Regions from separate parts of the Homo sapiens genome. Here region 1 is linked to region 2. The links are contacts of gene promoters, found by promoter capture Hi-C in human tissues and cell types (Jung and others, 2019). All regions are on one chromosome and are shown on one strand. Each heading gives the region's core, a stretch centred on a gene start or on the middle of the fragment in contact. The rest is flanking DNA. Distances are from core to core; before and after follow the strand shown.

Region 1 (4,898 bases), core at 199-2,698, 520 kb before region 2:
ATAGATAAGGAAGCTGGAAGCTTGCAGCTGGGAGCTGCCGCACTAGAAAGGGGTACCTGGGGCCAGTCATGTGCACCATGAGGGCTCCGCCTCCCACTTTTTTTTTTCTTTTTCTTTTTTTTGCACCTGCACAGTAGGAAAGCAACATGGAGTAGCTCAGGCAAAGGACCCGCCTCCATAATAAAAGGCTGGGATGGGGGCTGCCAGAGATTCGCACTCTATGCTGATGGTACACCTGGTCTTAACTGTTTTTTCACACCCTATGTAGGTAAAATACTGCCTCCCCACTAGGTCACTTATAAAAACTGTCAGGCCTCTGAGCCCAAGCCAAGCCATCGCATCCCCTGTGACTTGCACGTATACGCCCAGATGGCCTGAAGTAACTGAAGAATCACAAAAGAACTGAAAAGGCCCTGCCCCGCCTTAACTGATGACATTCCACCATGGTGATTTGTTCTTGCCCCACCTTAACTGAGTGATTAACCCTGTGAATTTCCTTCTCCTGGCTCAGCAGCTCCCCCACTGAGCACCTTGTGACCCCCGCCCCTGCCCACCAGAGAACAACCCCCTTTGACTGTAATTTTCCATTACCTTCCCAAATCCTATAAAACGGCCCCACCCCATCTCCCTTCGCTGACTCTCTTTTCGGACTCAGCCCGCCTGCCCCCAGGTGAAATAAACAGCCATGTTGCTCACACAAAGCCTGTTTGGTGTCTCTTCACATGGACTCGAGTGAACTTTGATGCCGTGGCTCGGATCGGGGGACCTCCCTTAGGAGATCAATCCCCCGTCCTCCTGCTCTTTGCTCCATGAGAAAGATCCACCTACGACCTTAGGTCCTCAGACCAACCAGCCCAAGAAACATCTCACCAATTTTAAATCCAGTAAGCCGCCTCTTTTTACTCTCTTCTCCAACCTCCCTCACTATCCCTCAACCTCTTTCTCCTTTCAATCTTGGCGCCACACTTCAATCTCTCCCTTCTCTTAGTTTCAATTCCTTTCATTTTCTGGTAGAGACAAAGGAGACACGTTTTATCTGTGGACCCAAAACTCCAGCGCTGGTCACGGACTGGGAAGGCAGCCTTCCCTTGCTGTTTAATCATTGCAGGGACACCTCTCTGATTATTCACCCACGTTTCAAGGGTGTCAGACCATGCAGGGATGCCTGCCTTGGTCCTTCACCCTTAGCGGCAAGTCCCGCTTTTCTGGGGAAGGGGAAAGTACCCCAACCCCTTCTCTCTGTGTCTCTACCCGTTCTCTGCTTTTCTGGGGAAGGGGCAAGTACCCCAACCCCTTCTCTCTGTGTCTCTACCCCTTCCCTGCTTTTCTGGGGAAGGGGCAAGTACCCCAACCCCTTCTCTTCTTGTCTCTACCCCTTCTCTGATTTTCTGGGGCAGGGGCAAGAACCCCTCAACCCCTTCTCCTTCACCCTTAGTGGCAAGTCCCACTTTTCTGGGGGAGGGGAAAGTACCCCTCAACCCCTTCTCCTTCACCCTTAGTGGCAAGTCCCGCTTTTCTAGGGGGCAAGAACCCCCAATCCCTTATTTCCACACCCCGACCTCTTATTTCTGTGACCCAATCCCTTATTTCCACACCCCAACCTCTTATCTCTGTGCCCCAATCCCTTATTTCCATGCCCCAACCCCCCTTCCCACTTTTCTAGGGGGCAAGAACCCCCAATCCCTTATTTCCACACCCTGACCTCTTATCTCTGTGCCCCAATCCCTTATTTCTGTGCCCCAACCCTTTCTCTGCTTTTCTGGAGGGCAAGAAACCCCCACCCCTTCTCCGTGTCTCTACTCTTTTCTCTGGGCTTGCCTCCTTCACTATGGGCAAGCTTCCACCTTCCATTCCTCCTTCTTCTCCCTTAGCCTGTATTCTTAAGAACTTAAAACCTCTTCAACTCTCACCTGACCTAAAATCTAAGTGTCTCATTTTCTTCTGCAATGCCTCTTGACCCCAATACAAACTCTACAGTAGTTCCAAATAGCCGGAAAACGGCACTTTCAATTTTTCCATCCTACAAGATCTAAATAATTCTTGTCATAAAATGGGCAAATGGTCTGAGGTGCCTGACATCCAGGCATTCTTTTACACATCAGTCCCTTCCTAGTCTCTGTGCCCAGTGCAACTCATTCTGAATCTTCCTTCTTTCCCTCCCGCCTGTCCCCTCAGTCCCAACCCCAAGCGTCACTGAGTCTTTCTAATCTTCCTTTTCTACAGACCCATCTGACCTCTCCCCTCCTTGCCAGGCCAAGCTAGGTCCCAATTCTTCCTCAGCCTCCGCTCCTCCACCCTGTAATCTTTTTATCGCCTCCCCTCCTCACACCTGGTCTGGCTTACAGTTTCGTTCTGTGACTAGCCCTCCCCCACCTGCCCAGCAATTTACTCTTAAAAAGGTGGCTGGAGCCAAAGGCATAGTCAAGGTTAATGCTCCTTTTTCTTTATCCCAAATCAGAAGCGTTTAGGCTCTTTTTCATCAAATATAAAAACCCAGCCCAGTTCATGTCTCGTTCGGCAGCAACCCTGAGATGCTTTACAGCCCTAGACCCTAAAAGGTCAAAAGGCCATCTTATTCTCAATACACATTTTATTACCCAATCTGCTCCCGACATTAAATAAAACTCCAAAAATTAGAATCTGGCCCTCAAACCCCACAACAGGACTTAATTAACCTCACCTTCAAGGTGTACAATAATAAAAAAAAGGAAGTTGCAATTCCTTGCCTCCACTGTGAGACAAACCCCAGCCACATCTCCAGCACACAACAACTTCCAAATGCCTGAACCGCAGTGGCCAGACATTCCTCCAGAACCTCCTCCCCCAGGAGCTTGCTGCAAGTGCCAGAAATCTGACCACCAGGGCAAGGAATGCCTGCAGCCCAGGGATTCCTCCTAAGCCATGTCCCATCTGTGCGGGACCCCACTGGAAATCGGACTGTTCAACTCACCTGGCAGCCACTCCCAGCGCCCCTGGAACTCTGGCCCAAGGCTCTCTGACTGACTCCTTCTTGGCTTAGTGGCTGAAGACTGACGCTGCCTGATCGCCTCAGAAGCCCTGTAGACCACCATGGACACCGAGCTTTAGGTAACTCTCACAGTGGAGGGTAAGTCTGTCCCCTTCTTAATCAATATGGAGGCTACCCACTCCACATTACCTTCTTTTCAAGGGCCTGTTTCCCTTGCCTCCATAACTGTTGTGGGTATTGACAGCCAGGCTTCTAAACCTCTTAAAACTCCCCAACTCTGGTGCCAACTTGAACAACACTCTTTTATGCACTCTTTTTTAGTTATCTCCACCTGCCCAGTTCCCTTATCAGGCCGAGATATTTTAACCAAATTATCTGCTTCCCTGACTATTCCTGGACTACAGCTGCATCTCATTGCTGCCCTTCTTCCCAATCCAAAGCCTCCTTTGCGTCCTCCTCTTGTATTCCCCCACCTTAACCCACAAGTATAAGATACCTCTACTCCCTCCTTGGCGACCGATCATGCACCCCTTACCATCTCATTAAAACCTAATCACGCTTACCCGACTCAATGCCAATATCCCATCCCACAGCATGCTTTGAAAGGATTAAAGCCTGTTATCACTCACCTGCTACAGCATGGCCTTTTAAAGCCTATAAACTCTCCTTACAATTCCCCCGTTTTACCTGTCCTAAAACCAGACAAGGCTTACAACTTAGTTCAGAATCTGTGCCTTATCAACCAAATTGTTTTGCCTATCCACCCCGTGGTGCCAAACCCATATACTCTCCTATCCTCAATACCTCCCTCTACTACCCATTATTCTGTTCTGGATCTCAAACATGCTTTCTTTACTATTCCTTTGCACTCTTCATCTCAGCCTCTCTTTGCCTTCACTTAGACTGACCCTGACACCCATTAGGCTCAGCAGCTTACCTGGGCTGTGCTGCCGCAAGGTTCCAGGGACAGCCCTCATTACTTCAGCCAAGCTCTTTCTCATGATCTACTTTCTTTCCACCCCTCCACTTCTCACCTTATTCAATATATTGATGACCTTCTTCTTTGTAGCCCCTCCTTTGAATCTTCTCAACAAGACATACTTCTGCTCCTTCAGCATTTATTCTCCAAAGGATATCGGGTATCCCCCTCCAAAGCTCAAATTTCTTCTCCATCCGTTACCTACCTCGGCATAATTCTTCACAAAAACACAGGTGCTCTCCCTGCTGATGGTGTCTGATTAATCTCCCAAACCTCAATCCCTTACAAAACAACAACTCCTTTCCTTCCTAGGCATGGTTAGTGCGGTCAGAATTCTTACACAAGAGCCAGGACCCCACCCTGTAGCCTTTCTGTCCAAACAACTTGACCTTACTGTTTTAGCCTAGCCCTCATGTCTGCATGCAGCAGCTGCCGCTGCTTTAATAATTTTAGAGGCCCTAAAAATCACAAACTATGTTCAACTCACTCTCTACATTTCTCATAACTTCCAAAATCTATTTTCTTCCTCATACCTGACGCATATACTTTCTGCTCCCCGGCTCCTTCAGCTGTACTCATTCTTTGTTAAGTCCCACAATTACCATTGTTCCTGGCCCAGACTTCAATCTGGCCTCCCACATTATTCCTGATACCACACCTGATCCCCATGACTGCATCTCTCTGATCCACCTGACATTCACCCCATTTCCCCATATTACAAGCCACTAGCCCATCTCTTAGAACCTCTCATTTCCTTTCCATTGTAGAAATCTATCCTCAAGGAAATAACTTCTCAGTGTTCCATCTGCTATTCTATCTGCTATTCTGCTACTCCTCAAGGATCATTCAGGCCCCTCCCTTCCCTACACATCAAGCTCGAGGATTTGCCCCCGCCCAGGACTGGCAAATTAGCTTTACTCCACATGCCCCGAGTCACAAAAACTAAAATAC
Region 2 (4,719 bases), core at 1,135-3,634:
ACGCGGGGCAGGACGGGCAGAGGCGGCCCGCGCTGCCCGAGAAGGTGGCCCGCATCAGGGTGTATTCATCCAGCGAGGCAGAGGAGGGCTGGGGCACCGGCCGCTGCCGGGCTGGCGTGGTCAGGGAGTAGGTCCTCTTGCGCAGCCCTCGGTCCAGGTCCTGGGCCGCGTCCCCCGAGACCCGGCGGTAGGAGCGGCCACAGTGGCTCAGGGGCCTGTCCATGGTCATGTACCCGTAGAACTCACCGCCGCCGCCGCCGTCTCGGGCCGGGGGCGTCTCCGCGATGGACTCGGGCGTGTTGCTTCGGTGGCTGCAGAAGGCGCGCAGGTCGCCTGGGCTGGAGCCGTACTCGTCCAGGGACATGAAGCCGGGGTCGCTGGGGGAGCCCGAGGCGGAGGCGCTGCCGCTGGAGGGCCGCTGGCCGGGGCCGTGGTGCAGCGGATGCGGCAGAGGCGGGTGCGGGCCGGGCGGCGGCGGGTAGGAGCCCGAGCCGTGGCCGCTGCTGGACGACAGGGAGCCGGGGCTGGTGGCGGCGGGCGGCGAGTGCGCCACGGGCATGGACATGGAGCGGCTGTGTTGCAGCGCGCCCCCTGCCGGCAGCAGCGCCACCTTGCTCCCGCGGCCGCCGCAGCCGCCGCTCAGGGTGTGCGAGCGGCTCAGGGGCGCGCGCACCGGCCCGGGGCTCAGGGGGCTCCCAGCCACCGACACCGGCCTGGCGCCCGCGGCCGCCGCTCCCGCCGCCGCGCCGCCGTCGCCCTCGCTGGCGGTGCGCACCCGGCACGAGCTGCACTTGGCCGCCGGCGGGGTGGCGGCCAGGCTGTCGGTGCGCGAGCGGCGCACCAGGCCCGTCTGGCTGGGGGGCAGGTTGACCAGGTGGTGGTGGCGGCGCGCGCCGGGGACGCTGATGGGGTGCGTGGCCGACGACCCCGACGATTGGCTCTTACTGCGCGGCCGGAACTCGAAGAGCTCCTTGAGCGCCTTCATGGCCTCCAGGATGGTCTCGTGGATGTTCTGCGCCACCACCGAGTCGTCCGCCTGCATCCACAGCTCGCCGGGGCCTGTGACGGCCGAGCGGCCCACCTCGATGAAGAAGAAGCTGTCCGAGTGGCCGCAGCGGCGGATGTTCATGAGCTGCAGCGTCACCGACGGCTGCTCGCAGTTGAGCTTCACGAAGCCGATGGTGCGCGCAGACAGGCACAGACGGTACACCCCCGTCAGGTTCTTGCTCTGGCCCAGACCCTTGGGCTTCAGGTTCACCTGCCACACCTCACGGTAGGCGGCCGTGGCGGGAGCCACCAGCCCGTAGCTGTCCTCGGCCCCGGCGGCGCCGGCAGAGCCGCCCAGGGCGCCGGGCAGGGAGGCGCTGCAGGACGCGGCGGGCGCGGCGGCGGGGGGCGCGTCTCCGGCGGCCGCGCGGCCCTCGCTGACCAGGTCGGTGAGCGCGCGGTACCAGCCCTCCTGCTCCTGCTCGTTCTCGGCGGCCACGGCGAAGTACTCGTCCTTGGTGTAGAGGGCGATCAGGTACTTGTGCTTGGCGTCGGCGCGCTTGTTGATGTTCAGGCAGCAGTCGAGAGCGATCACCCGTTTCGGCGCGCCTGCCTTGCTCCGCCACTTTTTCTCGCTCTCGTAGTACTCGAGCCGCGGCGGTTGCGGCGCCGACCCCCCGCCCGCCGTCGCCTCGTCGCCGCCCGCGCCGGGTCCGCGCAGCACGAAGAAGCGCTTGTGGCCATGCTTCTGCTTGCGCAGGTAGCCGCACTTGCGCACGCTGTGGTTGTTGTTGTTGTTGTTGTTGTTGAGGTTGGGGCCGTCTCCGCTCGCCGGCCCGGGCGGCCCGTGCCGCGGCGGGCTCGCCATCGCGGGCGCTTCAGGCCGCGCGGCCCGGGCCCGGCGCCCAGGGGTTGGGGCGAGGGGCGGAGGGGGCGCGGGCGGGGGCGGCTCCCTCCCACCCTTGCGCCCGGCCGCCCGCCCGATCACGCGTCCCTCGGGCCCAGGCGGTGGGGAAGGTCCGGGGAGGCCCGCGGGGGCCAGCACCGCTCGGCGGCGCCGCGCCCTCCGCGCTCTGGGGCTCCTGAGGATGCCCGGCGCGGGCGGTGGCCGCCCCCCTCCCCGGCTGCCTGCGGCCGCTGCCTCCTCGGGCTCTCGGGCGGCGCCGGGGGACGCGCTCGCTGGGCCGGGAGTCGGGGTCCCCGAGCCGCGGGGCCGAGCCTAAGGCGCGCGCGGCCGCACCGGGGCTGCTGCCGCCGCGTCGCGCTCCGGGAAGCCGGGGTGCGCCCGGGCGCTCGGGGTCCGCGCCGCCGCCGGGGCTGCTGCTGCTGCTGGTGTTGCTGCTGCTGCTGCCAACGGCGACCCGGGCTCGTCGCGGTCCCCGCCGCACAGTGAGTAACACATCGCGCACCGAGTGACTGAACTAAGAAGAGCAAAACAACATGTGACTCGGCGTTACGCAGGCACACACAGCGCGGCCGCCCCGCCCCGCTGCCTCGCATTGGCGCCGCGCCCCCCGACGGACGGCGCGCTCGGCCAATCGGCGCGGCGCTCGCGGGGGCGGGCCGCGCGCCCCCGCCCCGCCCCCCTTTCTCCCCGGGCCGCGTTTCCCGCCGTCCCCTCCCCCTCCCGCGAAGGCCCCGGCCCGGCCGGGCGGGGTGGGGCGGCCCCGGCCTCATTAATCAGCGGCTTGTTGTGGATGCCGGCGGAGGAGATGCCACCCAGGGCGGGAAAAGGGGCGCGGAAGAGGGGCGGGGCGGGCCACGGCGCGCAGGGCCCTTCCCTCCCGCCTCGGACTCAATTAATTGGGCTTGAGCTTCCGCCGGGGAGGGGGCGCCGGGCGGGGCCGCGGCTGGGCGGGGCGGGGGATCGGGATCGGCGGCGGGGGCTGCGGCCTTGCAGTGGAAGCATGGGCGGCGAGCCGGGCCGTGCTCTCGGGGCGCGGGGTCCCCATTTTGGGCGAGGGCGGCCGCTCCCGCGCTCGGGGTGGGCGCGCCCCATCCCCGTCCCCCGTTTCCCGTCCCCGTCTCCCGGCCGCATCTCCGTCCCCCCGCAGCCGCGAAACGCGGGGAGGTTCCAGGGCCCGCGGCCGCGGGTTCGCGAGCACCGCGCTCCAGATCGAGAGCGGCGCGCGCCCTTCCGTGGAGGACAGAGGGGCGCGGAGGGGGCGCCTGTGTCCCACCCGCTCGCGGGCGCTTTACGGGGCGTCCTCTGCGCCATTCACTTGTCAGCTTGTCGGGAAGTTGAAATCGCGTTTGGGAGGTAATAGGAGAAAGAGATCGGGGACGGCAGGCGGAGAAAGTGCGGTTTCCATAGCGCCGGGGAGAGGGCGGACCCGCGAGCCAGCGGTCCCTGAGCCGGGAGACCGCGCGGGCGTCTCTCCAGCCCCCGCAGGAGCGCCGCCTTCCTTCCGCAGGGGCGTCCTCTCCCCCCACCGCTGCAGGAGCACCCCCTTCCTTCCTCGGAAGCGTCCTCTCACCACACCGCTTCAAGAGCCCCCCCTTCCTTCCACAGGGGCGTCCTTTCCCCCTCCGAGGCAGGAGCGCCCCTTTTCCCCCCACAGGAGCGCCCTCCCCACCCCAGGAGCGCCCTGCGCCCAGCAGACGGGCAGGTGGGCGGGCGTCCACTACCTGTGTGCGCGGTGCGGGCGGTGACTGCCAAGTTGGAGATGCCCTTGGAGAACTGCTTCGAATTCATGTATCTACTGGGCTTTTGTGACTTTCAAAGCCTATAGCAAATAAGCACCCCTGCAATTACGTCTCCTCAATGACCAAGTCAGGGTGAGGTGAGGGCTTCCTGAGTTCAGATCCCAGCAAGCTCCCGATCCTGCGCAACGAAGAAAACTCAACAAAACAGGCTTTGGCTGTTTATTTTATTTTTTTTTTAATTGTGCCTTCATGAAATAATTTACAGCAATAATTTATCTTATAATATTGGTTATTGTTTTTAAGTCCCGGATGTTTACTTTTGGATGTCCTCTATAATTCATAGAAGTATCTTAAAAGTAATAAAATCTTAATCTAAGAGAAAATAAGTGTAATTTTTGAAAGAGTGATATATATTTTAATATGTTTTTGTAACATGTGACTTGAAGATTGTGTTGGCTAATTTTATGTGCCAAGAGAGCCCTGACTAGTACAAAGATTATAGCGTTTTTATTTTTAGCATGTATACAGTTAGGATTATTGATCAGTAGCCTGAATTTGGGAAGAATAATCATTGTGGCAAATATCACCCAGTGTGCCTCAAAAAGGTGTGTTTAAAGTTGATCTTCCATTTTTAAATCATACCTTAAAAAAAAATACCTCAAGAAATGCCATTTTAAGTCTGTGCACCTATGTGTGCATGTGTGCGTGTTTGTTTATATAATAGATTGTGTGATTGTGTGTGTATAGGTATGTGTGTATGATTGTGTGTGTTGGGGGCGCCACCTTTATGAACATTATGCTTCGGCGTTCTTTTTAGATCTTGTTACCTTTTCTTACGTTCACAAATGTTGCCTAGCAATATGTCTAGTCAGGAAAGATGAAGGGATTCTTATCTTGGTGCTTGAAGAAAATGTGGTGTAGTTTTATTGGCTTTGTGATCACTTACATCCCACTTTTATGAGGATGTAAATGGGCCACCTCTATGTTCCTGTATGTTGCCAGCCATCAGTAGACAATGCTAAAGGAACCACCACTTTTAAACATCATGTGATGGTTTCTTCTGAGAAAGTATATTTTGCAATCTTT

The links. Contacts are between HindIII fragments. The study calls those that stand out against the background at their distance.
Region 1: a contact is called between a fragment that was not itself captured here and the fragment with the promoter of IRS2 in region 2, in 1 of the 25 tissues and cell types used here (mesenchymal stem cells).

Annotation. Positions count from the first base shown.
Region 1 is chr13:109,264,784-109,269,681 of GRCh38, forward strand. It overlaps LINC03061 (long intergenic non-protein coding RNA 3061), which reads left to right and starts at 704. Exons shown (of 2, transcript NR_185883.1): 1 at 704-884; 2 at 2,828-4,898. RefSeq lists an enhancer at 2,488-3,446. The HindIII fragment of the contact is 6,977 bases long and covers 1-4,898 here.
Region 2 is chr13:109,784,199-109,788,917 of GRCh38, forward strand. It overlaps IRS2 (insulin receptor substrate 2), which reads right to left and starts at 2,385. Exons shown (of 2, transcript NM_003749.3): 1 at 1-2,385. The coding sequence starts at 1,855. It overlaps LOC124903211 (WAS/WASL-interacting protein family member 1-like), which reads left to right and starts at 2,886. Exons shown (of 2, transcript XM_047430835.1): 1 at 2,886-3,247; 2 at 3,402-4,719. The coding sequence starts at 2,895. The coding sequence ends at 3,639. RefSeq lists an enhancer at 892-1,521 and silencers at 2,363-2,592, 2,613-2,782. The HindIII fragment of the contact is 26,611 bases long and covers 1-4,719 here.